Linked DNA regions of Homo sapiens: all the other regions are linked to region 1. Evidence: promoter capture Hi-C in human tissues and cell types (Jung and others, 2019). All regions are on one chromosome and are shown on one strand. The core of a region is centred on a gene start or on the middle of the fragment in contact, and the rest is flanking DNA. Distances in the headings are between cores, read along the strand shown. Region 1 holds the start of SNX1 (sorting nexin 1). Region 2 holds the start of RPS27L (ribosomal protein S27 like). Region 3 overlaps SPG21 (SPG21 abhydrolase domain containing, maspardin). Region 4 holds the start of PLEKHO2 (pleckstrin homology domain containing O2). Region 5 overlaps LINC02568 (long intergenic non-protein coding RNA 2568). Region 6 holds the start of OAZ2 (ornithine decarboxylase antizyme 2). Region 7 overlaps USP3 (ubiquitin specific peptidase 3).

Region 1 (4,053 bases), core at 459-2,958:
ACAGGAAGTAGGTTTCAGTTGCTGTGAAAAGGGATGTCATGGGAAGCCAGTGAGGTAGTCAGGTATGGCATGGGGAGGGCTTTTTGGCTTTCTCGTCTCCTAAGGGACTCAGTCCAGCACAGCTTCCCACCTTTGAACGAATATTTCTGCTAATGGCCTCCAAAGACAACTTAGAACATAAGTTTTCCCGTGTCTAATGTGTACAGTGGTGACATAATGGAGATCGCCATCCTTAAAAGTGTATCTTGGCCGGGCGCGATGGCTCACGCCTATAATCCCAGCACTTTGGGAGGCCGAGGCGGGCGGATCACCTGAGGTCAGGAGTTCGAGACCAGCCTGGCCAACATGGGCAAACCCCGTCTCTACTAAAAAATACAAAAATTAGCTGGGCGTGGTGGCAGGGGCCTTAATCCCAGCTACTTGGGAGGCAGAGGCAGGAGAATCGTTTGAACTCAGGAGGCAGAGGTTGCAGTGAACCAAGATCGAGCCATTGCACTCAAGCCTGGGGGAGAAGAGCGAGACTTCCCTCAAAAAAAAAAAAAAAAAAAAAAGTGTATCTTAAGCCCTCTGGTGTTCGTGGGTGTGATGGATGCCAGTAACAAAATCGATTTTATTTTATCCATCCATCCCTCCGATCAAATTTGTAGGTACTAATTTGCCATAGGTGATCCATAGGCATGGAAGATACAAAGATAAAACGCTGCCCCCGCCTTCAAACAGCTCACATGACCTGTGAGGGAGTCCATCCCTGAATTTGCAGTTACAACCAAACTAACTAAACCTCTTGTCAAAGTTGGTGACAAATGCCATTTCTATTGAGAAGATAGGATTATCTTGCAGAATTGTCCCATGCTAACATGCCCATTTATCTTTAAACTCCAGTCTTGTTTGTCTAGTTAATGTAGGCCTTAGGATCACCAGACAATGAATTGCTTAGGTCCCAAGGAAATTTTGGTCAGGGTTCAATAATTTCCCTGCCGTCTATTCCACTCCACTTACTCCACAGCAATTGAGAGGATAATCCTAACATTTTTCCAGCCAAATCTAGGACACTGAGGCCTCACTTCATCTGTGAGGCCTCCCTACTTCTCCAAGCAGAATTGATTATCTCTTTCCCTGTGCTCCCACAGGGCACCATAGCATTGAACATGTCGAACTGTCGATTAAATACCTGATTTCTGTATCTGAAACTCACAGCAAGGTGCCAGGCATACAGTAGATGCTCAGTATCTGTATTTCTTAATGAATTAACTGAATGTTGCTCAAGGAATAAGTGGTGAAGCTTTCTTCTAGTCTTGTTCAGATACCTCAATCGAAATATTTATTGACTCTCTGTGAGGGCATTGTGCTTGGCATGGGTAGATGGCATGTAGAGGTTTTCAAACATTTTAGTGACACTCCTTCATTCAGACGAACTCTTAGAAGCCTGTTGGATAAAGCTATCCAGAGCACAAAGGGCCCTAGAAACCTGAGCAGCCCCTAACTCCTACTTTTCTGCCCCTTTGGCCCCACTCGTTAATATCTCAGCATCGCGAACCAGGCCTCGGATTTGCTGCGCAGCCTCAGCTGGCCGGGTGCCGCCCCGCCCCCAGCGCCTAAGCCCCGCCCCTAGGTCTCCGCCCCTCGGATCCCACGGGGTCCCTTGCGGCCCTCCCACTCCTCGCACCGTTGGATCGCTTTGCTCACGGCGCTATCTCTCGATAAAGTTGTTGTTGCGGCTTCCGCCGCGGGTGGAAGAAGATGGCGTCGGGTGGTGGTGGCTGTAGCGCTTCGGAGAGACTGCCTCCGCCCTTCCCCGGCCTGGAGCCGGAGTCCGAGGGGGCGGCCGGGGGATCAGAACCCGAGGCTGGGGACAGCGACACCGAGGGGGAGGACATTTTCACCGGCGCCGCGGTGGTCGTGAGTTTGCACCCCTCGGGGTAGCAGGCGGGAGGGCACCCCGAAAGGGAAGAGAGGCTAAGCGAGAATCGGGGAGGTTGGGCAGAGTGGGCCCGGTGAGACCTTGCCTCGGTGTCAGCAGTCCGGGCCCCGGGGACCCTGGATGTGCTCGAAGCGGTAGAGCTTGGCTTCCCGGCCCCCAGGCGGGAAGAGTAAAGAATGAGGGTTGTGGTGCCTTCGTCGGCTAGCTCCCTAACAGCCGAGAACCGCCGACGCCGTCCTTTGACCCTGCAGTGTGGTGACACTCCACGGATCCACGGGGTTATTTTGCAGGTCGTGTCCTGCCAAGGCAGATTCAGTAGGACGGAATAAGCGAATGGGATGCAGACCTTTCCCCCGTCTTACTGCTTCTAAGATGAATAGCGTTATGTGGACTAGCCTGGGGTGGTGACCCGCCCACCAGTTCTTTCTTTAGCCCAGCATTTACCGATAATAACCAAAGGCCCTTTCTGGATCTTAGTTTACAAAAGTTATGTTGATTCTTCTGATCTCTAGGAAAATCAGGCCAGAGGCTGGTGGACAGAAGGCACTGCCAGATAAATCACTACATAGATCAGAAAGCTTTCTCCTTTTTAAAGGGATGTGTTCAAGTGCCCACGTACCTCACTGGGAGCAAATCTGAAATGTGATGAGGAAATGGTGTTTCCCGTAATGTTACCGGTAGGAGGCCCTTGAGTGTAGGTTGTCGAGGTTCTTGGCATTTTGAACAAATAATTGGACAAAACGCACAAAATAACAAAGGAATGAAACACAAACGAAGCAGCGAAAGCAGGAATTTATTAAAGCGAGAAAGCACCCCACAGGGTGTGAGTGGGCCGGAGCAAGGGGCTCAAGAGCCCACTTACAAAGTTTTCTGGATTTTAAGTGCTCCTTTTATGGTTCCTATGGGTTACCCCTTATCTGGATGAAGGATTTGGTCTGTGGCTAAAGGCCGAGGTGAATTGGCGTCCTGTGCAGATGAACGGATGGTCCCTGCTTGGCCTGCGGCCAGTCTAAGGCACTCTCCCTTTCCATGTGAGACGTGGTGGATGGGGAGGGTTGCAGGGATAGTAGCCTTTGATCCTTTGCCACTCGGGCGTGGGCAGATGGGTTTTTTCCTTTTGGTTTAGCTTTAGGAAGTTGGCCTTAATTGGCCTTAGGTTCCCTGCCCCCAAACCCAGGGGGTTCCTTTTGGGAATTCAGCTTTGGGAAGTCAGCACGAATTGGCCTTAGATTCCTTGCCCCCAGACCTTGGTGTTTTCTCTTTTAGAAAGTTAACGTAAGTTGACCTCAGATTCCCTGCCCCCAAACCTTGGTGTTTTTCCTTGATTCAGCATGAATTGCCCTTAAGTTCCCTGCCTCCAGACCCTATTCTCCTGCCTCAGTAATAAATATCCGGGTCTCTAATAAGAGTTAGGTATTAGAAAAAAATAATCTTTGTAATGTGGAAATCAGTAATCAGTTATGGAACCAGTAGAGATGTTTTGGGCTATTTTATGAGAATATTTACTCATACCACTTGGTATAGGTTGTTCCAGGCTGTAAAATTCAATGCTGGGTCTGTGAATTTATCTGTTTGGCATAATGCTTCTCTTCACAGTAGCTACTCAGTGTGTAACCAACTAAATAAAACAGCTATAAATTCTTTATGCAACATGTGGTCTGAAAAAGTTTGAGGCTTTCCTCATTTGTGTCAGATTTTCCCTGTCCTGTATTCAGAAATTGAGTCCATAATCTCAGCTCATAAGGTGCTTGATAATTCTAATATAACAACTAAAACTGTCAAATGAAGTCTCTTATTCTGAGAAATAATAAGTCTTTGTGACTGTCATAAAACAGGAAACAATTTTTGTTTGTTTTTAGAGACATAGTCTCCCTGTGTTGCCCAGGCTTGTCTTGAACTTCTGGGCTCAATGGATCCTCCCTTCCTCCTAAGTAGCTGGGATTGCAGGTGCATGCCTGAGAAATAATAATTCTTGCCGCTAATTTAGTCCTTCTGTATGTTATTTTAAGTAAGTATTTAGTCTGTTCCTTTAGTAATTCTTCTATAAGTCATGGAAGACAGCTACTGTTGGTAACTGCTGGAATGATGTGCAGACTGAGAATATGAAAACAGAAACTCTGACACTGAAAGTG
Region 2 (4,053 bases), core at 580-3,079, 940 kb before region 1:
TAGGCTGGCACAACACTGTTGAACAACCTACACAAAGAACCACTGTCTGAGCATGGCTGAAAACCGTGGTGATCTTGTAGCAACCTAAAAAAAAAAAAAGGCAATGTTAAAAATGAAAAGCAGAGGAAAACAGCACCTGTTCGACATTTCTGGTAATATGTAAAAAAATCAGTAACTTCAGTGCTATGAAACAGCAAGCCACATGTGTAACATAAACTTTTCTAGCAGCGACACAAAATTTTTTAAAAACAGGTAAAATCAATAATATATTTCATTAAACTTAATATTTCCAAAATATCATTTCAACATGTAATCAATGTATTTTTTTTCTGTGCTACATCGTCAAAATCCAGTGAGTATTTTACAATTAAAGAACATCTCTATTTTGAGTATCCACATTTTGATTATCCACAAGTGCTCAGTAGCCACATTCAGCTAATGGCCATTGTATTGGGCAGCACAGCTTTAGACTGAAGAATCAACAGACTTTTCTTTGTATCATGAAACAGAAAACTCATCGTCTGAAGAGCTTAAAGACTTGCTAAGTCAAATGGCATATCTCCTTTGAATGCCTGTTTTCACTTACCCCGAAATGTTTCTACAATGGTTTCAGTACATTTATTATGAAAATGTCCCTGACATTTCCAATTCTGTAATCCCACTTCTACTCAACAGAGGGTTCTAATGTATCTTAACTATACACACCACACTAGCAATCCCTACAGAAATTTTCTTTAGTAAAGGAATTAAGATTTCAAATTTTACCTGGACATTTTACATCCATAAAGTAAGAATTTGGACTTTGTACTAGGCGTTTCTTTTTATGTTTTTTCTTTTCCTCTTCCAAGGACGGATGTAGTAAATCTCTAGCCAACTGAACAAAGAAGCATATTATTACTATTAGTTTTAAACCACAACGCTGGCACATTTAACCATACGTGAAATATACATGCAAAAACAGGAATAACGGTCATCCTCGGCAGAAGCAACACGTCAGATAGTAAAGTTATTTTTCGAAACCTGTTAATAACTTTCATCAGTACTTTTCATAATACTTGTGTTCTCCAAGTCCCTAGAAAAGGGCTTTCGCACGATCAGGAAACATATGGTAAGGCAAACTTTGTCCTTCTTTACTCAACTGCGTAATGAACTGTCTTCGATGAAAACTGCGCGAAGTCGAGGTGCTAAGCAAAGAAAGTGACCCCGACTGTGGACTCGCTTAGAGTAGAAACTGCTGAAGTAGACCAGACAACGTCAGCGCCTGGGTGATTTTTGCTCCTGTGGCTCAACAGCTGATCTGACAGGAATTCTTGCTGAGCGACCGTCCTTGACGGAATTAATATATAAGGCAACAACGAGGACAGTTTTTAAAAAAGGAAAACAAGTAGGAAATCGCTTCCGAAAGAAGGCAGAGGGGGCGAGAAACACCAATCACTGGGAAAGCCAAAAGACCCAAAGATCACAACCTCAGGGGCATCCTCAAAGACCAAGACCGCTCATAAGCTACACAGAGAACTGTTCCCCTCCCAGCCACCGCCTCTGAATTGCAGCCCACGCCCCTGCAGGGCCAGCCGCGCCGCGGTGACCGGGCAAGTCACTACATGCCCGCCACGCGCGAAGACGCTGCGCAACCTGAGCCGCCTCGCCACTCTCGGACACTACAGGCCCGAGAGGCAGCCGGACTCATCCGTCCCATATGACTCTCGGTAAAGAAGCCCAAAACAAACCCGGAGCCCGATGTAAACAACTCACAGGCATGTTGATCCTCTTGCAAGCTCAGCCCTACCAGACCTCCCAGCCCACACAGCTAGCAAGCTGCAAGCGATCTGCGCTCGGCATCAACTTCCGGGATAGAAGCTGCTGGGAGGAGCGGCGGGGCGGGCTTGTCTGCTCTAGGCCCTCCTCTCGGTGGTAGGGGGACGCCGCAGCAGGGTACTCGGGTCCAGGGCGCAGGGAAGACCCGGGGATGGTGAGCGTTCCAGGGTGCCAAGTCCCGTGGGTCTAACGGGCTTGTTGGCGAGCGCCGCGGGCTCTGCAGTGCCTGAGGCCAGAATCTGGCTGGGGAGCGGCCTCGGGCTTAGGCCATGGCGAGGGAGCGCCCGCGGCCACCGGGGCCGGCGCCACCCCGGAACCCGGCGGGCCGCTCAGCCCCCGGCCCCCTGGCCCGGCCGCTCTCGGTTAGCTCTGGGGGTGGGCACACGGGGCAATGCCACTATTCTCTTCTTTTGTGTATTAAAAAATACAGTATTATTAACCATTAATACGTGCCAGAGAGATTATGAAAGAGGCTCGTATCCTTTTGGCTTCCCTTTTCAAGGCGCAGATTTCGAAGTTTTCTGCGGGGTATGGCTGTGCCTTAGGTTTGCTTTGTTCTGAAAAAAAGTTTTTAAAACAGCACGGATTCGCTGCTGTGCCTCATTCACTAAGAGGCCCCACCCCTTCCGAGGATTACTCGTCCTTTGCAGAGTGGACAACTAGGGGGCCTGAGAAAGGCGAATGTCACCGATGACCGAACATGAGTCTTTATCATTATTATTATTTGAGACAAGGTCTCGCTTTTTTGCCCAGGCTGGAATGCAATGGTGCCATCACAGCTCACTGCAGCCTCGACCTCCTGGGCTCAAGCGATTCTCCCGCCTCAGCCTCCCGAGTAGCTGGGACCACAGGAACACGCCATTATTCTTTTTTTTTTTTTTTTTTTCCTTGGAGACAGGGTCCTGCTATATTGCCCAGGCTTGTCTCCAATTCCTAGGCTCAAGAAGTCCTTCCACCTCAGCCTCCCAAGTAGTTGGGACTACCGGCGCGTGACAGCATGCTCTATTTTTGAGGAGGAAACTCTATGCTTGAAAAATGGGTGTCATGGGCGACCAAAAGGCAAGAAACCAGAAAGACACTTTACCAGAAAATTGGTCTAACTGGATTTTTTTTTTTTTTTTTTTTTTTTTTGGCAGAGTCTTGCTCTGTCACCCAGGCTGGAGTACAGTGGCGCGATCTTGGCTCACTGCAACCTCCGCCTCCTGGGTTCACGCGATTCTCCTGCCTCAATCCTCCCAAGTACCTGAGATTACAGGTGTCCATCACCATGTCCGGCTACTTTTTGTGTTTTTAGTAGAGACGGGGGATGGTGGGGGGGGGGTTCACTATGTTGGCCAAGCTGGTCTCGAACTCCTGACCTCAAGTGATCTGCCCGCCTTGGCCTCCCAAAGTGTTGGGATTACAGGCGTGAGCCACCGCGTCCCGCCCTGACTTGATGTTCTTAATCACCTTATTTGTCTTTGCAAAAAGGATACATGTATAATATACATTTTGGGAAATGCAGAAAAATAGAAGAAAATTTACCATCTGTAAATAAACATTTTTAACTTTTGACCTATATCCTTCCCAATATTTTTTACTCTCTTGGATATAGGTTTATTTTGGGTTTTGACTTAACCTAATTGGGATCATCTTGTGCATAATCTTTTGTAGACTTGAATTTTCCTCCCACTTACTATAAAATGAGCATCACTCCATGTCACTACATATTCTTTTTTTTTTTTAAATAAGGTCTCACTGTGTTGCCCAGGCTGGAGTGCAGTGGCACAATCTTGGCTCACTGCAGCCTCGACCTCCTGGGCTCAAGCAATTGTCCCCCCTCAGCCTCCTGAGTAGTTGGGACTGCAGGTACAAGCCACCACGCCTGGCTAATTTTTGTAATGTTTGTAGAGATGGGGTTTCGCCATGTTGCCCAGGCTGGAATATTCTACATTATGCTTCTTAATGGGCATATAGCATTTGTCCTGTGACTATATATATTTTCACTTCAGCCATACACTAAATTGGGCATTAGGTTTGGGTTTTTAAATATTTGATACTTAAAAATTAATAAAAATTGGTGAATATTAAATATTTAATGTATATAAGTATATAGAATAATACAATTGTATACACAGAATAGTGGCCCCCAAAGACATCAGTGGCCTAATCCTCAGAACCTTTAGTTACATGGCAAGTGGAATAAAGGTTGCTGATTAGCTGATTTAATCTAGAAGGAGTATCCTGGATTATCTGTGT
Region 3 (4,053 bases), core at 457-2,956, 890 kb after region 1:
CTTGTGGTCAGGAGTTCGAGACCAGCCTGGCCAACATGGTGAAACTCTGCCTCTACTAAAAATACAAAAATTAGCTGAGTGTGGTAGCGCATGCCTGTAATCCTAGCTACTTGGCAGGTTGAGGCAGGAGAATCTCTTGAACCTGGGAAGCAGAGGTTGCAGTGAGCCGAGATCATGCAGTGCACTGCACTCCAGCCTGGACGGCAGAGCGAGACTCCATCTCAAAAATAAATATAAATAAATAAATAAATAAAAATGAGTACAGTTACACTTGCTTTCACTCTAAAATGAGTCTCAAAAGTTGACTGTACATGACAGGGAAGGAGTGAACTTAATCCTCTGCAACCCACAGTCATGATACTCGGCAGTAACCTTTACTCTCAAACACTACTAAGACATGACATCTAAATCACACACAAAAACAATACAAGATTTTGCAAATAAGAGGTATAGTAAAACCATACATACCTTTTTAAGGGGAACTGTACCTCTAAACCAGTTATAATCAGGAGAGACTTTAATCTCTCCCATGATTAGCTGAAATGGAGGTTAATCCTGAAATAAAAGCATGTGATATTTCACGTCAAGAATTCATGTTTACATCAGAACTAAATGTAGAGTCTCATCTAGCTATACCAACAATATTTTAAAGAAGAAAGCCAAGGAAACTGGCTATTTTGTCAGTATATAGTCCAACTACAGAAAACAATTTGGTGAAATACTACAATCACAGAATCAGAAGCACTCTTTTTTTTTTTTTTTTGAGACAGTCTCAGTCTTGTTGCCCAGGCTGGAGTGCAGTGGCGTGATCTCAGCTCACTGCATCCTCTACCTCCTGCAGTTCAAGTGATTCTCCTGCCTCAGCCTCCCGAGTATCTGGGATTACAGGTGCCCGCCACCACGCCCAACTAATTTTTGTATTTTTAGTAGGGATGGGGGTTCACCATGTTGGCCAGGCTGGTCTCGAACTCCTGACCTCAGGTGATCCACCCACCTCAGCCTCCTAAAGTGTTGGGATTACAGGCGTGAGCCACCATGCCCGGCCACCAGAAGAGCTCTTACAGAAATTATTCCAACACCCTTAGTTCTTCCAGAAAAGGAATCTGGTCTAGAAAATTTAAATGACTTACCCAAGATCACATGGCAATGCTAGGACCAGATGTGAGACAGCCTTTTCTGACACCATACTTCCTGTCTTAGTTCTCAACTGCAGTACCATCAGTTATCTTTTGACATTACCTTAAGAATCCCTTTAATAAAGATGCTCCTGTCTGATTATAGGGATAGTCCACGCTAGAGAAAGGAGTTGATGTTTTTTTACTTTTTTAATTTTTGAGACAGTCTTGCTCTGTTGTCCAGGCTGCAGTTCAATGGCACAATCACAGCTCACCACAGCCTTAACCTCTGAGGCTCAAGTGATTATCCCAACCTCAGCCTCCTAAGTAGCTGAGACAATGGGCACACACCACCACGTCAGGTGAATTTTTTGGTTTTGTAGAGATGGGGGCCTCCCTGTGTTGCCTGCACTGGTCTCGAATTCCTAGGCTCAAGCAATCCTCCCATCTTGCCTCCCAAAGTGCTGGGATTACGGGTATGAGCTACCACACCCAGCCTAGAGAAAGAAGTTTAAGTTAAGCCTGCTTCCTGATAAATTCGCAATACACCATAAATCTAACTGTAATAGCACATAACCAGAAATTCACATGTAGTTCCCTTTTTTTTTTTTTTTGAGACAGAGTCTCACTCTGTCACCCAGGCTGGAGTGCAGTGGCGTGATCTCAGCTCACTGCAACCTCCACCCTCCAAGTTCAAGCGATTCTCCTGCCTCAGCCTCCTGAGTAGCTGGGATTACAGGCACCTGCCACTGCGCCCGGCTAATTTTTTGTATTTTTAGTAGAGACGGGGTTTCACCATCTTGGCCAGGCTGGCCTTGAGCTCCTGACCTCATGATCCACCCGCCTCAGCCTCCCAAAGTGCTGGGATTACAGGCATGAGCCACCGTGCCCCGCCTACATGTAGTTCTTAATACAAAATACAGGCAAATTTGCCACTCATATGGACGTGATTAAAAGTTACACAATGTCCTCAGAAAGATCTATAATGTAAACTTGAAGGCACTATAACTAACAACAAAATGAAACATTTGCCCTTAGGAAAAAATGTGTAGTCTTTTGTTGTGAGCTTAGTGACTTCTGGTTTTCATAGCTCTGTGATCTTAGATAAGTCTTGATCCTTTTGGAGTTTGTTTCCTCATCTATGACTGTGTTACCACTGTGTCCCCAAAGCTTAGATCAGTGCTTGGCACACAGCAGGCATTATCTGTTGATTGAACGAATAACTACATTCTAAGGAGAATGAAGGGGGCCATCCTTCTAACCCTGGCATCTGTGAGCTTTGGCCTAGCTGAACATCCTCAACTAAAAGGCTGCCCCTCTTTGCTCAGGCATCTGTGCTATGTCATAACAGGAAACTGAAATTATAGTTCCCTGTTGCAGATTCTTATTGCCAAGTGAGGAAATTCCACCAGGAAGGATTCAAATATTTGCTTTGTACCACTTCCTCTACCTCAAGAGCAAGCCTTGATCCTAGCACGGCTAACACGAGGTGAGATTCGTGAGACCTAACTCCCGGGCTGACTCTGAACTGTCGTTTTAGAGGGAGTTCTCTGGACTGGCAAGGAACAGGGGATTCTAAACTCAATGGAACTCTTCCTTGGTGGCCCTCGAGATCTGCTCCCTCAGGAACACAGAGCCCTCAGTAGACTCAACTGTGACCTTGGAGACGTACTAAGCTGAACCCCGAGGAGACAGCAGATGTAGACATTCTAACACTAAACTTGATTTACAACCTTGACATTGTGATAATGGTCTCTCTTCTCAAAGCTAAGATGGTAATTTTAGAGAAGTGTGTTAAAATCATAAGTTGCTTTAAAGTACCAAGAAAATCATCAGCCAGTCTTATACTGAAAATTAGTGTGCACAGATATATATAGTGAAATAAAGAAAATTCTTTGCATATCCATTTTATCTTAAATATTAATATGTTAAGGCCAGGCACAGTGGCTCACGCCTGTAATCCCAGCATTTTGGGAGGCTGAGGCAGGTGGATCACGAGGTCAGGAGTTCAAGACCAGCCTAGCCAAGGTAGTGAAACCCTGTCTCTACTAAAAATACAAAAATTAGCCTGGCGTGGTGGCGCACGCCCGTAGTCCCAGCTACTCAGGAGGGTGAGGCAGGAGAATCACTTGAACCCGGGAGGCAGAGGTTGCGGTGAGCCAAGATTGTGCCACTGCACTCCAGCCTGGGCGACAGAGTGAGACTCAATCTCAAAAAAACAAACAAAAAAATTAATATGTTAAAAAATTTTGCCAGGCGCGGCGGCTCACACCTGTAATCCCAGCAGTTTGGGAGGCTGAGGCAGGTGGATCACCTGAGGTGAGGAGTTCAAGACCAGCCTGACCAACATGGCGAAACCCCATCTCTACTAAAAATACAAAAAAAATTAGCCAGGCATGGCAGTGGCCGCCTGTAATCCCAAATACTCGGGAGGCGAGGCAGGAGAATCGCTTGAACCCAGGAGGCGGAGGTTGCAGTGAGCCAAGACTGCACTCCAGCCTGGGTGACAGAGTGAGAGTCTGTCTCAAAAACAAAACAAAACAAAACAAAACAAAACAAAAAACAAAAAAACAAAAAACAAAAAAAAACTAAGCCATTTTAACTATAGGCTTTCTCTAAGCTGATTATAACTTTTAATTGAAAGCAACTAGCACATATACTTAATTCTGGAATATTTTCTACCTGGACAGACTTGAAATACTTCTATATCATCTAAATACTTCTTAATGGAGACATTTCCTAGTATTGCATTATTAGAAACAATCTATTCTAAAGGAGGGAAAATAAAAACATGTTTAGCAAATAACATCTACTCAATAGATTTATAAAACACCTTAGCTAACTAAAGCCAGAAAGTGTGCTTCTAGAGTCACCAAATGGGATAAATCATTCATAGCTTTGAAATCAGTTGCAATGCACAAACCAAACCACCATACAA
Region 4 (4,053 bases), core at 648-3,147, 750 kb after region 1:
AGTAAAACCATGTGGTGGCCGAAAGAGGTTGCTACATATACAGACTATCTCAGATCCTCAGCCTCAATTTTCCTTCATCTTTCCTTCCTTCCTTTCTTTCTCTCTTTTTCTTTCCTTTCTTTCTTTCTCTTTCTTTCTCTTTTCCCTCCTTGCGTCCCTCCCTCCCTCCCTTCTCTCTCTCTCCCTTTTTTTTTTTGACAGAGTTTCACTCCTGTTGCCCAGACTGGAGTGCAATGGCGTGATCTCAGCTCACTGCAACCTCCGCCTTTCGGGCTCAAGCGATTCTCCTGCCTCAGCCGCTCAAGTAGCTGGGATTACAGGGATGCACCACCTCGCCTGGCTAATTTTCTATTTTTAGTAGAGACGGGGTTTCTCCACGTTGGTCAGGTTGGTCTGAACTCCCGACCTCAGGTGATCAGCCTGCCTCAGCCTCCCAAAGTGCTGGGATTACAGGTGTGAGCCACCGCTCCCAGCTCTTTCTTTTCTTTCCTTCCTTCCCTCCGTCCTTCCTTCCTCTCTCCTTCCTTGTTTCTTTTCTTTCTTTCCTTCCTTCATTTCTCTTTCTTTTCTTTTTCTTTCTTTCCTTTTTTCCTTCCTTCCCTCCCTCCTTCCTCTCTCTCTCCTTCCTCTCTCTTTCTTTTCTATTCTTTCTTTTTCTTGACCAGTGTGATAATATCAGCCTCAATTTTCTTCATTCCTTTAGCTAAAGGATCCCAGGCCTAGGCATGAGGGAGAAGTGTACCTGCATCTCCTTCCCCCTTGGCCTGGGAGCCCCAGGCTGCCCTTTTCCGTACAGGGCTGGAAGTAGCCTGGGAGCCTGAGGGCTGGCAGAAGGCCGTGAAAGGGGAGCTTGGTCGCTGGCACAGCCGCTGCTATGGCAGCCAGAGCCGAAGAAGGTCACCATTGATCTCACATGCACTTAATTTTCCCTTCCTTGGCATGGGACGGGGTTGACCAGGAGAGCTAAGGGGGAGTATGCGTGTGTGTGTGAGAGGGGAGCGGTGCTGCAGGCTGCGATGCAGCCAGTTACTTTCTCTCTCTGGGCCTCAGTTTCTCCAATGTAAAATGAGGGCGCATGGTATAACTAAAATCATTACTCTCTGCTGGTCCCCACACTCCCACTCTCCAGTAAGGCTGTCAGGGCTGCAAGCTCACCGCGGGATCGGGGGGATGGTCGACCCTCAGATACGGGAGGGATTGAGCGATGCCCAAGGAGAGCAGGAGAACACTGCGCTTGGAGACCCCTGAGAGCCAGGGGCGGGCCGCCCCCTAAAGGGACCCCGGAGTCCCGACTCTCAGCTCCAGCTCTTCCTGTGACACCACCCTCCGGACAGAGACCCAAGCTCCAGGCCCGGCCCCGCCCAGAGGTTCCAGGGAGAAGACCAGGCCACCGCCCACTGCCCGGCGTCGGGGAGGAAAGAGGAGGAGCCTCTGTGTGCCCACATCTCTGGCCGCCCAGGGCAGCTCGGCTCGGTCTCGCAACCCCAGCCCACTGGTTCGGGAGACCTCAAAGGCTCCACCGCCAGCGCCCCCAGCGCTCACTGTGTGCGCCCCACCCCAGCCCTGCCTGCGCGCCGCTCCCGCCACCCTCGCCTCAGTCTCTGGGCCGGAAGCCCCCTCTCCTCCCCCGCCGCAGCCCCCTCCTAGTCCCTCTCCCTCCGCCGATGCGGGAAACCTTCTCCGCCCCGTCCCGCCCTCTTCCTCCAGTTGCATCTCCGCCCGGCTCCTCCGTCCAGTCTCCAACCCAGGCCCCGCCCCTCCCCACCCATTTCCCGCCCTGGGCCGGGCCCCCGGCCCCACCGCCCCCTCCCCGGCCCCGCCCCGGCCCCCGGAAGCCTCACCCCGCCCCCGGCCCCGCCCCCCCGAAGTTTCTTGGGCCCCCGGCAGCCGGCGGGACAGAACGCGGAGAGTCGCCGCCTGGCCGGGCGTAGACGCGGTGGCAGAGCCCGCGCGGCGCTGGAAGCGAGTGGCGGAGCGGCGGGACCTCGGCGGACTCGCCATGGAGGAGGAGGTGAGGGCGGGGCCCGGCGGGGCGTTGGGCTGGGGTCCTCGAGCCCCTCACGGGGATTGCGGTCCTGGGCTCAGGCCCTCGTTCCTGCCCGCCCCACTCCCGCCAGTCTCACCTCAGGAAGAGCCTGGGCAAATGGGGCAGGGGCGAGGGGCTGGATCCATATCGGGGACTTCGCAGACCGCGTCCTCCTTCATTCTCGCTGACTTTCTCACCAGTTGTGGGGCGTCGTGGTTGTTACCGTTCCCATTGGATTGACCAGGAGACTGAGACTCCAGCGAGATTGATGACTTGCTGAAAGTGGCCTGGGTGACTGGGCTCGAACCCCGATTACCGTGGTCGGATCCTGACTCTCTCTCTCTCTCTGTGTGTGTGTGTGTGTGTGTGTGTGTGTGTGTCGGATCCTGACTGTGTGTGTGTGTGTATGTGTGTGTTGGGGGGTTCCTGTCTCAAGGATCGGATCCTGACTCTGTGTGTGTGTGTATGTGTGTGTTGGGGGGTTCCTGTCTCAAGGATGTGACCATGCTTTGGTGGCAGGAGGATTGGAGAAGTTGCTTTTTTCTCCCTTGTATAAGTCTCTGTATCTTTTCCCCCACTCTCTCCCCGCTCCACATCCATCTGAGCAGCTAGCTGTAGGGAAGGAATCGGGAGTCCGGCCCACCTAGGGTCTGATCTTAGTCCCTGCCTTCCCCACCCGAGGGCTGGACCAACTGTGTCCCTGGAGCCTCCTTCTAACCACTCAAAACACTCTTGGCCTGGGATTGGGTCTTGCCCCTGCCCCTGCCCTTTACTTGCAAACTCAGTTCTGCCAGCAGCCGCTTTATCCGAGGGTCCAGCACGCAGCAAGCACTTAATATATGCCTGTGGAATGATTAAGTTAAAATGAGGGGCCTGTTGGGTCTAGAGGAAGGTGAATTTGTTTCTTATCCCCTGAGGGGGTCCCAGCTTCAGCCCCTCTCAGCCCAAGGGAAGGGGCATGTCTTTGCCTCCTTGGATGGGGAGGAAAGATGAAGTTCTCTGCCTTGGGGGAACCCTGGCCAGCTGGGAAGCCCTGAGTGGACCGGACTGCCTGTGTCCCTTCAGTGCCCACCTCCCACTTTTCCAGGGCCATGGATAGGAGCAGCTAGTGGTCCGTCAGGGCTCCCTCTAGGCCAGGCCCTGCCTTTCTGTGGGATGGTAGATAAGTCACTTCCCCTCTCAGCCTTCATTTCCTCTTCTACAAAATATAGTGCCTGTCCTCCTCATACTCCTGGCCTGACAGTGGCCGGTTCTCTCAGTGGGTGAAGGTAGGGGGCAAAGTCAGGCCTCTGTGATTTGCTGCGGTTTCTTTCTGGCTGTTAGGTGGGGCTGCCATCTGCCTGCCCCAGGCCCCTGCTGCAAGGGCTGGGCTCTCTGGCCAGGGCCCCTCCCCTGCTCCCAGAGGATGTGGGTCAGGATTACTCCATCTCCTGATCTGCGCTGGCCCCTGATTAAGGGAAGTTCTCCGGACACCTCCTGGGCCCGGCTCAGCTCTGTACACCCTTGGTCCTGAATCTCTCACATTGTCACTTTCTTTTCTTTTTTTTTTTTTTTGAGACGGAGTTTCGCTCTTGTTGCCCAGGCTGGAGTGCAGTGGCGAGATATTGGCTCACCGCAACCGCCACCTCCTGGGTTCAAGCAATTCTCCTGCCTCAGCCTCCTGAATAGCTGGGATTACAGGCATGCACCACCACGCCTGGCTAATTTTGTATTTTTAGTAGACATGGGGTTTCTCCATGTTGGTCAGGCTGGTCTCGAACTCCTGACCTCAGGTGATCCGCCTGCCTCGGCCTCCGAAAGTGTTGGGGTTACAGGCATGAGCTATTGCACCCAGCCTATATTGCCACTTTCTGACTCCTAGATGCCCAAAGCTCTCTAAATATCTGGGCCATCTAAGTTCTTGTCCACTTTACCCAAGCCCCTGCAAGCCTCACCCCCACAGCAGGGGCTTCCTTTCCCTACTCCCCTTTGGCATCCCTAACTCTGCTTTCCTCCCACTTCTCCCAGTAGCTTCCGCTTGTTGCACT
Region 5 (4,053 bases), core at 883-3,382, 680 kb before region 1:
TGTGATCTGGGCTCACCACAACTTCAACCTCCAGGGTTCAAGTGATTCTCCCACCTCATTCTCCTAAGCAGCTGGGACTATAGGCATACACCAACACACCCAGCTAATTTTTGTATTTTTAGTGGAGACGATGTTTCACCATGTTAGCCAGGCTGGTCTCAAACTACTGACCTCAAGTGATCCGCCTGCCTCTGCCTCCCAAAGCTCTGGGATTACATCTGTGAGCCACCGCGCCTTACCTGTTTTTTGTTTGTTTGTTTGTTTTTTCTGTCACCCAGGCTGGAGTGCAGTGGCATAATCTAGGCTCACTGAAACCTCTGCCTCCCGGGTTCAAGTGATTCTGCCTCAGCCTCCCGAGTAGCTGGGACTACAGGCGTGCACCACCACGCCTGGCTAATTTTTGTATTCTTAGGAGAGACAGGGTTTCGCCATGTTGATCAGGCTGGTCTTGAACTCCTGACCTCGTTATCCACCCGCCTCGGCCTCCCAAAGTGCTGGGATTACAGGCGTGAGCCACCGCACCTGGCTGCCTGACCAGTTTTTAATCCTATAGGGTTTTCTCTTTTTTTTCCTTTAATTTGTACAATATTCCTCATAGGAGTGAACAATTGGGGTGGACTGTCTCTCTCTCTTAACTCCGATGAATCTATAGGACTGCCAGTCAGGAGCAGCCTTCTCCATATGCCCCTGTCACCTCTAGCCAAATTCCTGATCCTCTTGCTTCTTTTCCACCTGGAACCTGCTGATTCCTGGGGCTCCCACCCCACCTGGCTCCTGCTCACCTGCTCCCTGCTTCCATCATCGGTTCGACACTCCTGGAACCCCTGGCCCCACCTCTCCTCAACTCCTCGTGACACTCACTCTCAGTGCAGGCCCAGTCTACTTCTGATTTAAGCTCTGTCCACCTGATCCAGCCTAGGGCCCAACATCAGTTCCGGGCATTGGACCCCAGGTTCTGCACCCGTCCTGGGCTCACCCTGGCCCCCTCAGGGATGTGTTCCCTCTGTCTTCCAAGAGGGTTAAAAGCCATGAGGACTCAGAAGGAGGCATCCAGTCTTTCCTCCTCTATCTGGAGAAAGAGGGGCGGCCTCACAGAACCATAGAGAAGAGGGGTTGTTGCTCTTTGAGAAAACACCTAGACTTGGTTCCTGGGAACTGCTAACTGCAAGGGGTTGGCTGTTCCTGCCCCACGGCACTGACAGGCCTTCTGGAGAATCATCTTAGTTCTACCATTTCCCCAGCCAGAGCAACATGTGCTGCTGAAAGAGGAAAAAGCTGACAAAGTAGCCCATTTCCCTTCCCATGATAAGGATACTGCATGCCCAGCTCCAGGCTCTCACATGCCCAAGGCTGCTTTGTCCAGCCAGATCTGCAGACCAGAGATCCCTTTCAGACATTTGGGGCTCAAACCCCAAGTCTCCTGATGCCCACCCCGGTGAGGAGCAGCCATTCCTGCAGGGCAGGCAGAGCAGAGACACAACCCACTATCCAGGCCAGGTGCAGTGGCTCACACCTGCAATCCCAGCACTTTGGGAGGCTGAGGTGAGAGGATTGCTTGAGCCTAGGAGTTCAAGACCAGCCTGGGCAACATAGGGAGTCTCTAAAAATAAAAAATTAAAAATAAAAAAGTCCTATCCATGAAGTAGAAGCTCAGCAGCCTCCCCATGAGCAGGGTCTTGATGGGAAGGGCCACAGCTGGGGGCCCAGGGGTGGGGGTGGGGTTAGCCAGACTTTGTTTCCCTGAAGGCATCTGTGGCTTGTACACTTGTTAGGAGTCTTGCAGAGGATGGCACAACTGAGTCCCAGCAGCCACTTATGCACTACTTACTGAGAACATGGTGCCCTGCCCAACCCACAAAGCCAATGTCATTCTGTCCAAACCCCCTAAAACGGGAGTTTTGGAAATGCCAAGGATTTCGTCTCCAGGTGCTCCATGTGGACAAGCTCTGCTCTCTGTGGGAGGATGGCATGAAATCATGTCTATGCCTTTTGCAAATAACAAAGAGCTCCACAAAGTGTAAGGGATGATAACTGTGTTTCCCAGCACAAGCCACATCCCTTACAACTCCGCGGGCACTGAAGGACTATCCGCAGGTCTTGTGTTTTGATATTTGGGCAGATTGCCTGGCTCATCTGCGTGGTTTTTCAGCCTGTGCTTTCTTTGCAGACAAGACTGGGATTTAATCACATCAAAGTGGAGAGAGGCCTCAGCTAGGGTCTGGCATGGGCTGTGACAATGTCATTCAGATTCTGAACTTGTTCTTACACTTACCTGGTGCACACTCCTAAGGGAATTTTGGCAGCTCCAAAAAGGAGAAAAACATGGCTTTTGATCCTGGACCACCGTTTGCTCTCATATTGTGGGAGAGCAATTATTAACTTGTCTTCACTTGACATTTAAAAATGTCTTAGTATCTGGTTTTTATTAACAATATCCCACCAGACAGAGCAAGACAAATGAAAGAAAAAGCTTTGAACATTATCTTAGGGACCAGCTGGAGGAAAATAGAAAAAGAAGAATCTTATTAACATGTAATAATAGCTCCCCTCCACGGCACACATTCTCATTTTAGCCTCACAATCACATAGGGAGCTATTATCACCCTTTTAAAAATAAATGCACCCATTATTGAAATAACTAATATTTTATCTGATTTTTAAATGAAAAATAAACTAAGCTTCGTGTCCAGATTTATCAGTGCAGTGGCTTTGGGGACGCGTCTCTCACCACCAAAACAGGAGCTCTGGTAAATGTGTTGGTTTCATGATTCTTGTTATTTTTTCTGGAGATTTTCCATCTGTTCTTCCTTTGGCAGGCTCACACCTAACATTTGCAGGGGCTGGGATGAGAATGTAAATGGGGGCTCCCTGGCCCACGGCTCATGCCACTTCTCTACTTACCCCGGTTCCGTTTCTTACCACCGAGGGCTTTGCATGCATGTATGCAAACAACTCTGTCCAAGCTCCAACCATGTGCTTTCACCAGCAAACAGCTGTCCCTTGACCACCTCTTGGGCCCCTAGGTGTGTACATCAGATGCACTTCCCACCTTTGGGAGGATGGATTTGGGAAACAGTTCAACAAGTCCCTTGAAGAGGGCTTGGGGTCACTTCAGCAGAGAATGCCAGGACCCTCAGAGACCCCCAGGGATCTGGGGAGTGTTCCTTGTCCTTGGCTTCCCTTGGCTGCTTGTTCTCACTCCACAGCGAGGGGCAAAGCCAGAGAAATGCAGAGGGTGCCGAACAAGGACCTCAGCTGCCCTGATCTGGGGTTGATGCTGCCTTTGTACTTAGCACTGCCTGCCAATGGCAGGCCACCTCTGCTGAAAGACAAGGGCAGAGGGTTTGGCCACCTTAGGCCTAGCGACATCTCTGGACCCAGTGAGAAACTCCAATGTCGAATTCAGAGGGACTGAATGTCCCCTCCCGCTAAAAATTCTTCTGATGCTAAAACCGTGTCTGAGCTGTGTTTTGTTTGATAGTTTTTTCCCTAAGGCTGAAATGCCCTAGTTCTTACTTTGTATTAACAAGGCAGCTTTCAGTTGGAAAATCTCAAAGCAACTAGGAACCGCTTCACAGACAAAGCAGGGACAAGAGAGGCTCTCCAAGTTCAGGGATTGGGCAAAGGACAAGATGTCCCTCCTGCCCCTTCCTCTGACAATGAAGCCTCGCTCCCTGGGAAAGGCAGAAGAGTCACTGCTGGGTGCAGGTGCATGGTGAGCTCTGGGTCTGGAAGCCCTAAGACCTGAATGAGCACATCAGATTTTGGGTTTATAAGGACCCAGAATTTCCAAGAGAAAATAAGCCCTTACACTTTCAGGAGAACCAATGTGCAGCCATGGCAAGGAGCTAGATTTTCCTAAAGCAAGCAGCCTCAAACTTCAGAGCCTCAAAGCAGTAAGCCAAATCTATCAGTAGGAAAATGAGGATGGAGTTTCAAAAAGAAAATGGGAACTCATTTAAACTGGCCAAAGGCATTCATGTTTGATACCAGATACGCAGTTTCTAAGAAGTCAGTGCATCCGTGCTAAATAAGATGAAAGTACTTAACTCA
Region 6 (4,053 bases), core at 850-3,349, 610 kb after region 1:
GAATAGGATGGGAAAAGCTGCAGGAAGGAAGCTGTGGTTTTTAACCCCAGCTTTGCATTATAAAGAATTACCTGGGGAGCTTTAAAACTATATGCTAATAATCAGGACACTCTAGGCCAATGAGACCAATCTTTGAAGGTAAGGCCCAAGTGACTGATTTCTCAAATGTGAAGCCAGGGTAAGAAACACTGAAATACAAGAAAAGCTGAAAACCCAGTTGGAATATTTAAGGCTGGTGCTGTTAACAAGTGGGAAAGGAAAGTTGAGAGACTATTTCAGTAAGAAGAGTGCCCAAGTTTGAGAGGAATCCTGAGTGGCAGTTAGAGGGCTCTATGCAAAGAAAAGCAATAAAGAAGGCAATGCATTTGAGAGGAACTAGTCTAATTCTGAATAGAACATGGCCCAATTTAAGGAAGATTTACAGGGAATGGATCTGCTTGCAAAATAATGAGGCCCAAGTGAGAGGCAGAGGCCATAAGGCCAAATCTGGGGACAAAAGGTCTGGTGTGGGGAACTAATGAGCTTCAGACACGGTTTGGACAGGACAGCAACAAGTTTGGGGAAAAAATGAGGAAGAGAATTAGGTCCAAATTGTAAATGAAAGCCATTCTGATGTATAAGGAGCAACTAGGATTAAAAATTCCGGGGAATTAGGAAATTGTGGAACAGTTTCAGAGAACAGAGGCAGAAATATGGGATATATTAAAATTTGAGGGAGAGATAGGTGAGAAGGGTTGTCTTGGAGAAAGAGAGGCATGTAGAGAAAGGAAAATTGAGGAACTATCTGCAGGGGGAAGGATATACCATGCAAGTTTGGAAAACCAGGGTGCTCGGTCTGAGAAAGATGTGCAGCCTTTCTCTAATTAATGGGGGAAGACTAGGGTCGGGTTTTGAGGGAGGAAATTGCAAAGATCTAGTGTCCAGAATATAGAGCTTGGTTTGAAGGCACTGGAGGTACAGGGGGAAGGTTCACTGGAAGCGAGATGGCTGGGTCCTGTGATCTAATGATCCAAAGACGGGATTCAGTTAAGAGGGGAAGGAGAAGGATGAGTTCCAGCTGAGAAAAGATGTTTAGAGGGTAAGAATGTTTCCAAGAGTGTTGGGGGTATACCATTGGGGCAACAGGATGGAGCACAAGAATCAAACCTGGTGTTTGATAAATAAAAGGAATGGCGCTGGGAGACTGGGAAAATGGGGCCTAACTGGGAGAGGGGTGTGGAGAGGGGAAGGTGGGGGAAAGATGAAGCTGAAGTATGGGACCAGGAGGAAGAGGCTGGACATCTGTGTAAGGACTGCTAGGCCTGAAGAGAATGGGGGGAGGGTGATGAGTGGGGGTAAACTGAGAACTGAAGGATGGAGGTTGACTTTGCGGGGGGCAGTGATATGAGAAGAGTCTGGGTGGGGGGTGCAGTTTTCATCAGGGAGGGAATTCAAAGGGAAGGGTGAAGTGACTTATAAGGGGAGTAAGAAAGATTTGAGGAAGACAGGAAACAATTTGGGGAATCTGGATGCCGGGGAAAGCCCAGTTTGGGGAATGGGGCACAATTCGGTGGGGCTGAAAGAAAAAAGGGGACTTGCTTGGAAGGTTGGGTTCCGGCTTTTGGGGGCTTTAGGGGAGGAGAAGGCCCGGATGAGGGGGATGGGCCCGGCTGAAGAGGGGGCTAAAGGACAGAAGAAGGCCCAGTTGCAGGGCTGAGGACCGGACTAGGGTGGCTGAAGTGGTGAACGGACCTGGCTGGGGGCGGATGGCCCCGCTGCGGGGGGCGGGGGCCGGCTAGGGGTACGTGAGAGGCCCTCTGGAGCAGATGAGGGAGGATGGGGGCGGGGAGCCTGGGCCGGGCCGTTACCTGTCCTGGGTGTTTATCATCCTCGGCGGCTCTGCTCAGGGTGGGAGGAGGCGGCGCAGGGAGTGGATAGATGGATGAGTGGGTGGGTGTGGGGTCACGCGCGCGGGGTCGATCTCTGCGGGCTAAGTCCCTGTCAGGCCGCGGGCCGAGCGCCTCCTTTTGCCTCAGCGAGCGCCTGCCTCCAACTGACCCTCCCCGGCCGCCACCGCCGCCGCCGCCGCCGCCGCCCCGCCCCCGAGTGCCTCATCTGCATAGCCCCACCCCAGCGCCGCGCGGTGTCCTGGGAAACTGGGGCCCACAACAAAGGGCAAAGCACCGCCCCGCCTCCGCGCAGGCGCACCACGGACCGATCGTGGGGGTAGGGCTAGGGGGTCCGAACGAAGGGCAGGCTGTGCAGGAGGCCATGACCAAGGCGGTGGGTCTGCCCGCAGCTGCGGCAGCGCGGCCCAGAAGATGCGTTGTGTTTCCGGTAGTTTTCTGTGAGGATTGACTCAACCTGGTCCTCATCCCTATTCCTTGTTGGCGTGGGGCCGAACAGGGCTGTGCCATTTGGGAGGATATTAAAACAAAATCAGAAATCTTAAGAGAACTACACACATATTAGCACCATTCCTAGTCTGAGTCCAGGCCCACAGATCTGTTATCTCAGCTCATAATGCAGATCAATAACCTCAGCTGTCAGGGTAGATCAACAATCTCAGCATCTCGCACACATCTCATGTCAATCGTCAAGGCTGCTCCAAGCACTGGCTTAGGTCATCTGAAGCCAGAACTCTGTAGATCATGAGCACAGTCACAACAAGACAGTCGTGGAAAGCGTCGTCACTAACTTGTTCACGGTCACTTCAGATCACAATCAGTGCAAGTTACTTCAATCGATCATGCAAGGTTACTAGTTCAGTCACCTCCATTCATTATCCCTACTGGTCCTTATGACAGATTAGTGCCTGAAGGCCACAGTCACCGGTGCGCAGACCCCTCAGATCACAGTCCTTGTAGGTTACAATCACAGACACTTCAACACAATCATCAAAAGCCCCGACTCTGTTCACAGTCAACCCAGATTGCAATCAAGAGAGGTCACATTATCTCAGATCACAGTGGGTCACTCTGTCACCTCAGATTACATCCATTCAGTTATTCAACAAATAATTATTTTATTTATTTACTTATTTTTGAGATGGAGTCTCTCTCTGTGGCCCAGGCTGGAGTGCAGTGGCACAATCTCAGCTCACTGCAACCTCCACCTCCCGGGTTCAAGCGATTCTCCTGCCTCAGCCTCCTGAGTAGCTGGGATTACAGACATGTACCACCATGCCCGGCTAATTTTTGTATTTTTAGTAGAGACGAGGTTTCACCATGTTGCCCAAGCTGGTCTTGAACTCCTGACTTCAGGTGATCCACCTGCCTCGGCCTCCAAAAGTACTGGGATTACAGGCATGAGCCACCGCACCCGGCCAACAAATAATTATTGAATAGCTACTTACTGTATGCTCCAGGCATGTGCTAGAGTCCAAGAATACGCCATAATCAACCAGGCAAGGTTCCTGCCTTGGATGTCACAATCCGGTCAAGGGGAGAGACACAGGTCATCACAATACCAGGTAAGTAAGTGCTCAATCTGAGGAATGCCACAGAGAAAGTAATTTAGGGAATTAGGGACAGCTTTGCAGAAAGAGTGATAACTCAGAGAAAGGGTGACACTCCAGATCGGCGGTCACTATGACTTTCAGTTCACAAACATCTCACATTGGAGTCATCTCAGGATATGGTTACTCTCCTTCACAAACAGCATGCTTTTGGGTTTTGGATGATGGGGATGGAGGCACAGAAGGAAGGCTGGAGCTACCAAGCTAAGGCTTTTTCAACACAAATTAAAGTGGTAAATGATACCGAAACTGCCCGGATTATCACTAGATATTCAGGCAAGGCTGGTCTCATACTCTGGTTCACTTTAAGATCCTCCACTTTGTCCCTCAGCTATCCCTACCTACTCCTCCAGGTTCAAGTCAGGTATGTTCTTACATTAGTACTTAGCAAAATTGGACATTTAAACCCAGCCCTGATCTACCCCATCGCATAGTCCCAGAGACCTGGGCAATCCTCCTGGACCCTCAGAGGGAGCTGGAATGTCTCACTTCTGCCAGCCCATTCCTGGCCAAGTAACCCTTTAACCTGAAGGACAGTTTTTGACCCATGAATCAAC
Region 7 (4,053 bases), core at 661-3,160, 530 kb before region 1:
CCAGAGTCCTTATTTTATGTTGTTTGGAAGATTATGCCAAACTTTAGGTAAGTATTATATGAAGATATTTTTAAACATTAATATTAGTGTTTATACTGTTCCTGAAATAATTCCTAATGAAGTGGTTGTATTCTAAATATTCTAAATACTTAAGACTGGTTTGGTGTTTTTTTCTTTTTAAGAAGAAGAGCTGAAATTGAATACATCTGACTAAACACATGTGTTTATTTAAATAATAGACTATAGAAATGTCTTTAACAAGAGGTGGGGTATTTTGTTGCTATAAACATAAAGCCCTTATAAATAACTTATGCGCACTAGGAAAACATACTGGACAAAATTTCCTTAATTCTTTCACAATGTAGAATAATTACCATCACACACTGTCTTGTTATTCCAGCTAAAAAAATTAATAAGATCAGTAGAAGTGCATGGTATTATATGAACTGTTCGGAGCTGAGTTCGGCAGCTCTGGGAAGGCTGTGGTCAAGCGCCTGGGATGCACTCTCCAGAAGGCAGCTGTGCCACATCCCGGTGTGGCCAGAGAGCTGCTGTGGTGCCCATGCTTTCTGTCTCACCTCGCTTGAGCAAAATACACCTCTGCTGTACACCTAGCTGTCAGAGGAATCCTGCCTTTTCTCGTAGGTCTGTCATCCCTGTAGGGATTCGGGTGATAGCAGCTTTGAGGCACTACAGGTGTTTGACAGCAGCCTTGGCCACCTTCTGCCGATTTTACCCTTCTGAAGCAAGTCATGGTTCTTACTAGTTATGATTTTGGCACCTAATATACATCCCTTCTACTTTTCTTTAAAAAAAATTCATGCTGTAGTAAACTTAGTCATCTATCTTGCCCTATTGCCTAAAAAGATGTAGTTAATATAGATAAATATTTAAAAGGTAATTAACTTCAAAGGACTTTAAATTGTTGCCTTGCTAAAAAGTCTAGTCTTGAGGATCTGACATGAGTAACTAGTGTTAACCCTAGTCTTGGTTTTGAAAGAAACTCCTTTTATGTATCATACTATTTAAATCTCCTGTCAGGAAAAACATAAGAATTTGAGAATGTCTTGACTTTAAGAAGGAAAGGCAGGAATGACAGTTAAGTTACCACTGTCCAGGTCTGGACCTAATAAAAAAATTTCTAACATAAATCACCTAGTAGACTCTTGATAGAAGTTTAGTCTTTGTGTTTTATTATTATATAATAATAGTTTACATTTATTGAATGCCTACTGTGTGCCACCCACTGGGTATTTTTTATCTGGTCTTCATTAAAAAACAAGCAAGAACAAAATTCCAGCCAAGCAGGAAATATTGCCCCCATTTTAGAGGAGACAAAACTGAGACAGAGAGGAGAAGCGACTTGTTTAAGTTTATACATCTCGTGGGGTAATGACCAAAATTAGAGTCCAGGTGTTTGTGGAGTTGGCTAATAATAGATTTGTTGACAATGATTTGCCCACATACCTTGAACAAGGCCCGTTAACTAATTTGATACTGTTTTCCTTGATCCCCATGGTGACCAAGATCCCTCATTCTTGAAAGCTTAGAAACATTATCATATTTTATACAGTAGAAATCTGCTTTTCCTGTAAATCTTTCCACATCTCTGTCCTTTCTAGCTTCTGTAGCCCAACTGTGAGCATGATGTAGTTTTTAGCTGTTTAATTTCCACATTGGAATATTCCTACTGATGAAGGAATAAGGTAACCAGGCTGACGAATGTAGCATGTGGAGTCTCTGGGGAAGATTTCAGATCATACATGAACTCTTAAATTTCTTGAATGGCTGATGAGAATAGGGTGCTTTTGTATTCTTAGCTGGGCTTGCTCTTAGTTCTGCAGTAATTGAGATTGTTCCCCATTTTTATGTAATCAAAGAACAGTTTTTCTCTTGGTCAGATCTAGATCTTGAGATTATATCATGGATAAAGCTTTAGTGCAGGTCACTGCACAATGCCCAGGTGTGAGGCAGGGAGGTGGGGCTTGCTTTTTACAGCTCTTACCCTGTGAGGTATGCAGGTAAGATTCTTATAACATGCCTGTGTGTAAGTGCATGAATCTTGATTTATGTTTATTTATAATCCCAAAGAAATTTTTTTTAGGTTTAAAAAGCCCATTTTCCTTGATTAACACATGACAGACAGTGTCTAGAGAACTTGATCCTTTGGGATGAAATATGAGGACTCTGAAATACAAACATGCGTGTAGAAGTAGAAACATCTTTCATCTATTAAATACACAAATATATATACATACACACACCCCCAAAACACACACACCCTCAATGTAATCAGCAGCTTTGGATAGAGAAATCATTAAGCCTATTCTTTCTTTTTTTTCCCCACTGAAACTAAAAGCCAGTTACCTAGCAGGGAAAATTTTCTTGAAGTTTTGACCTTTTCCAACATACATATGTACTTACCACACTTCTTATGATTTCTTAGTATGTTCAGCTCTTTCTATCCTTTTGCTTTTCATAAAAATACTTTAAAGTGTATTTTCTTAAATAGGCAAAAACATATGTGGTTCAAAATTCAAAAGGTAACAAAAGAATATGCAGTGAATGTTTTATTCTGTTCCCTAGCCATTCATTCTGTTTTCTGGAAGCAACCATAGTTACTAGAGTTTTGTGTATCCTTTCAGATATTCTGTGTGCATATACAGACAAGTGTGTGTGTGTGTTTATGTCATTTTTAATGTAATTGGTGATGTATCATCTTTTTTTCCCCACTTTGAGATGATTCATATTAGTATACAAATAGCTTCCTCAGACCATTTTACAGTTGTATCATAATTTGTGTCCAAGTCCCCTCCCAGTGGCTTTATGGACTGTTTCTAGTCTTTGCTGTTCTAAACAGTGCTGCAGTGAGTAGTATTTTACATACATGTGCAGGTATCTAAGAGAGAAAGTGCCGGGCTCAAGGAAATGTTCTTCTGTAATTTTGATAGTCTTTTCTGCTAGCCTTTGTCACTCCTTGCTTTTCTTAACACAGCTCTGTCTTGCTGCTTTGCTGTCTCTGTATGTCATGTGCTTCTGCCCACAGGATTTGCCTTGTGGTCCCTATCTCTTTGTCTAGGATCCCGGTTAAAGCTAACACTCTTCAGGAAAGTCTCTTGATGATTCAAATCAGGTCTTTCTGTACAACCTGATTTAATATATTTGTCTTGACTTCCCAAGATGGAACTTTATTTTTTTAAATCAGTTCTTGTTATAATTAATGTTTAAAATGATGGGTAAATAATCATTGGCACATAATTCTTATATTTGCTTGCTCTTCTCAGGTTTATAGACAATGTAAAGGATTTTTGTAGACAAAAAATAGATCTTTGCCTGTGATGCTTTTTTTTTTTTTAATTTTATTTTTTATTTGAGTCTCGCTTTGTAGCCGAGACTGGAGTGCAGTGGCATGATCTGGGCTCACTGCAGGATCCTCTGCTTCCTGGGTTCAAGTGATTCTCCTGCCTCAGCCTCTCAAGTAGCTGGGACTACAGGTGCGTGCCACCATACCTGGCTAATTTTTTTGTATTTTTAATAGAGACGGGATTTCACTATGTTGGCTAGGCTGGTCTCAAACTCCTGACCTCGTGATCCACCCGTCTTGGCCTCCCAAAGTGCTGGGATTACAGTTGTGACCCACCGTGCCTGGCCACGTGTGATACTTTAATTAAAGTTTTATTTAACAATAGTCTTTTTGGGATATTTGTGAAAAGATTTTAAAATACTATGCTATTGATATTTGATATTTAAACCATTTTCACTGTAGCCAAGAATTTTGCTATTGTATTTGTGTGTTTGTAAACACTAATTCATTTTTGTCAGTTTTGTTTTCTGGTGTTTTTGTTTTGAGGAAACTCAGTCATGATTGTTGCCAAATACTGAGTAGGAATACATTTAACTTATTTTCGTTTTGCAGATATTTTGGCCAAAACAACAACTTTAGAATTCTTTTTTTAATGTCAAGGATATTTTAAATATGAGCAGAACCTAAAATTCTAACATATCTTAGGTATTTTAGATTATACATATGTATATCTCTTTCTACATACAATA

Evidence for each region. The method cuts DNA at HindIII sites, captures the fragments that hold promoters and counts their contacts. A contact is called where the count stands out against the background at its distance.
Region 2: a contact is called between the fragment with the promoter of RPS27L here and the fragment with the promoter of SNX1 in region 1, in 1 of the 25 tissues and cell types used here (hippocampus).
Region 3: a fragment that was not itself captured here is called in contact with the fragment with the promoter of SNX1 in region 1 in 1 of the 25 tissues and cell types used here (pancreas).
Region 4: a contact is called between the fragment with the promoter of PLEKHO2 here and the fragment with the promoter of SNX1 in region 1, in 1 of the 25 tissues and cell types used here (liver).
Region 5: a contact is called between a fragment that was not itself captured here and the fragment with the promoter of SNX1 in region 1, in 1 of the 25 tissues and cell types used here (aorta).
Region 6: a contact is called between the fragment with the promoter of OAZ2 here and the fragment with the promoter of SNX1 in region 1, in 1 of the 25 tissues and cell types used here (hippocampus).
Region 7: a contact is called between a fragment that was not itself captured here and the fragment with the promoter of SNX1 in region 1, in 1 of the 25 tissues and cell types used here (H1 embryonic stem cells).

What each region holds. Positions count from the first base shown.
Region 1 is chr15:64,094,274-64,098,326 of GRCh38, forward strand. SNX1 (sorting nexin 1) reads left to right here and starts at 1,709. Exons shown (of 15, transcript NM_003099.5): 1 at 1,709-1,899. The coding sequence starts at 1,741. RefSeq lists enhancers at 1,693-1,812, 1,953-2,032. The HindIII fragment of the contact is 3,698 bases long and covers 1-1,890 here.
Region 2 is chr15:63,155,648-63,159,700 of GRCh38, forward strand. It overlaps RPS27L (ribosomal protein S27 like), which reads right to left and starts at 1,830. Exons shown (of 4, transcript NM_015920.4): 1 at 1,753-1,830; 2 at 766-874; 3 at 1-84. The coding sequence starts at 1,758. RefSeq lists enhancers at 570-1,769, 1,054-1,143, 1,294-1,953, 1,349-1,922 and a silencer at 2,104-2,203. The HindIII fragment of the contact is 14,496 bases long and covers 1-4,053 here.
Region 3 is chr15:64,983,039-64,987,091 of GRCh38, forward strand. SPG21 (SPG21 abhydrolase domain containing, maspardin) reads right to left here. Exons shown (of 9, transcript NM_016630.7): 2 at 469-555. The coding sequence starts at 531. Among named protein-coding and RNA genes, the nearest start is that of SPG21, 4.8 kb to the right of the region's middle. The HindIII fragment of the contact is 4,494 bases long and covers 1-3,953 here.
Region 4 is chr15:64,840,018-64,844,070 of GRCh38, forward strand. It overlaps PLEKHO2 (pleckstrin homology domain containing O2), which reads left to right and starts at 1,898. Exons shown (of 6, transcript NM_025201.5): 1 at 1,898-2,011. The coding sequence starts at 2,000. It overlaps LOC124903508 (a long non-coding RNA gene), which reads right to left and starts at 139. Exons shown (of 4, transcript XR_007064682.1): 1 at 1-139. RefSeq lists silencers at 1,421-1,740, 1,751-2,190 and enhancers at 1,998-2,521, 2,554-3,105. The HindIII fragment of the contact is 9,878 bases long and covers 1-4,053 here.
Region 5 is chr15:63,409,936-63,413,988 of GRCh38, forward strand. The region is part of intron 4 of LINC02568 (long intergenic non-protein coding RNA 2568); the gene reads left to right. Among named protein-coding and RNA genes, the nearest start is that of LINC02568, 22 kb to the left of the region's middle. The HindIII fragment of the contact is 3,934 bases long and covers 166-4,053 here.
Region 6 is chr15:64,701,182-64,705,234 of GRCh38, forward strand. It overlaps OAZ2 (ornithine decarboxylase antizyme 2), which reads right to left and starts at 2,100. Exons shown (of 5, transcript NM_002537.3): 1 at 1,848-2,100. The coding sequence starts at 1,867. LOC124903507 (a long non-coding RNA gene) reads left to right here and starts at 3,362. Exons shown (of 3, transcript XR_007064679.1): 1 at 3,362-3,451. RefSeq lists an enhancer at 1-57 and silencers at 1,686-1,905, 1,916-2,235. The HindIII fragment of the contact is 8,869 bases long and covers 1-4,053 here.
Region 7 is chr15:63,562,962-63,567,014 of GRCh38, forward strand. USP3 (ubiquitin specific peptidase 3) reads left to right here. Exons shown (of 15, transcript NM_006537.4): 8 at 1-47. Among named protein-coding and RNA genes, the nearest start is that of FBXL22, 32 kb to the right of the region's middle. The HindIII fragment of the contact is 6,097 bases long and covers 1-4,053 here.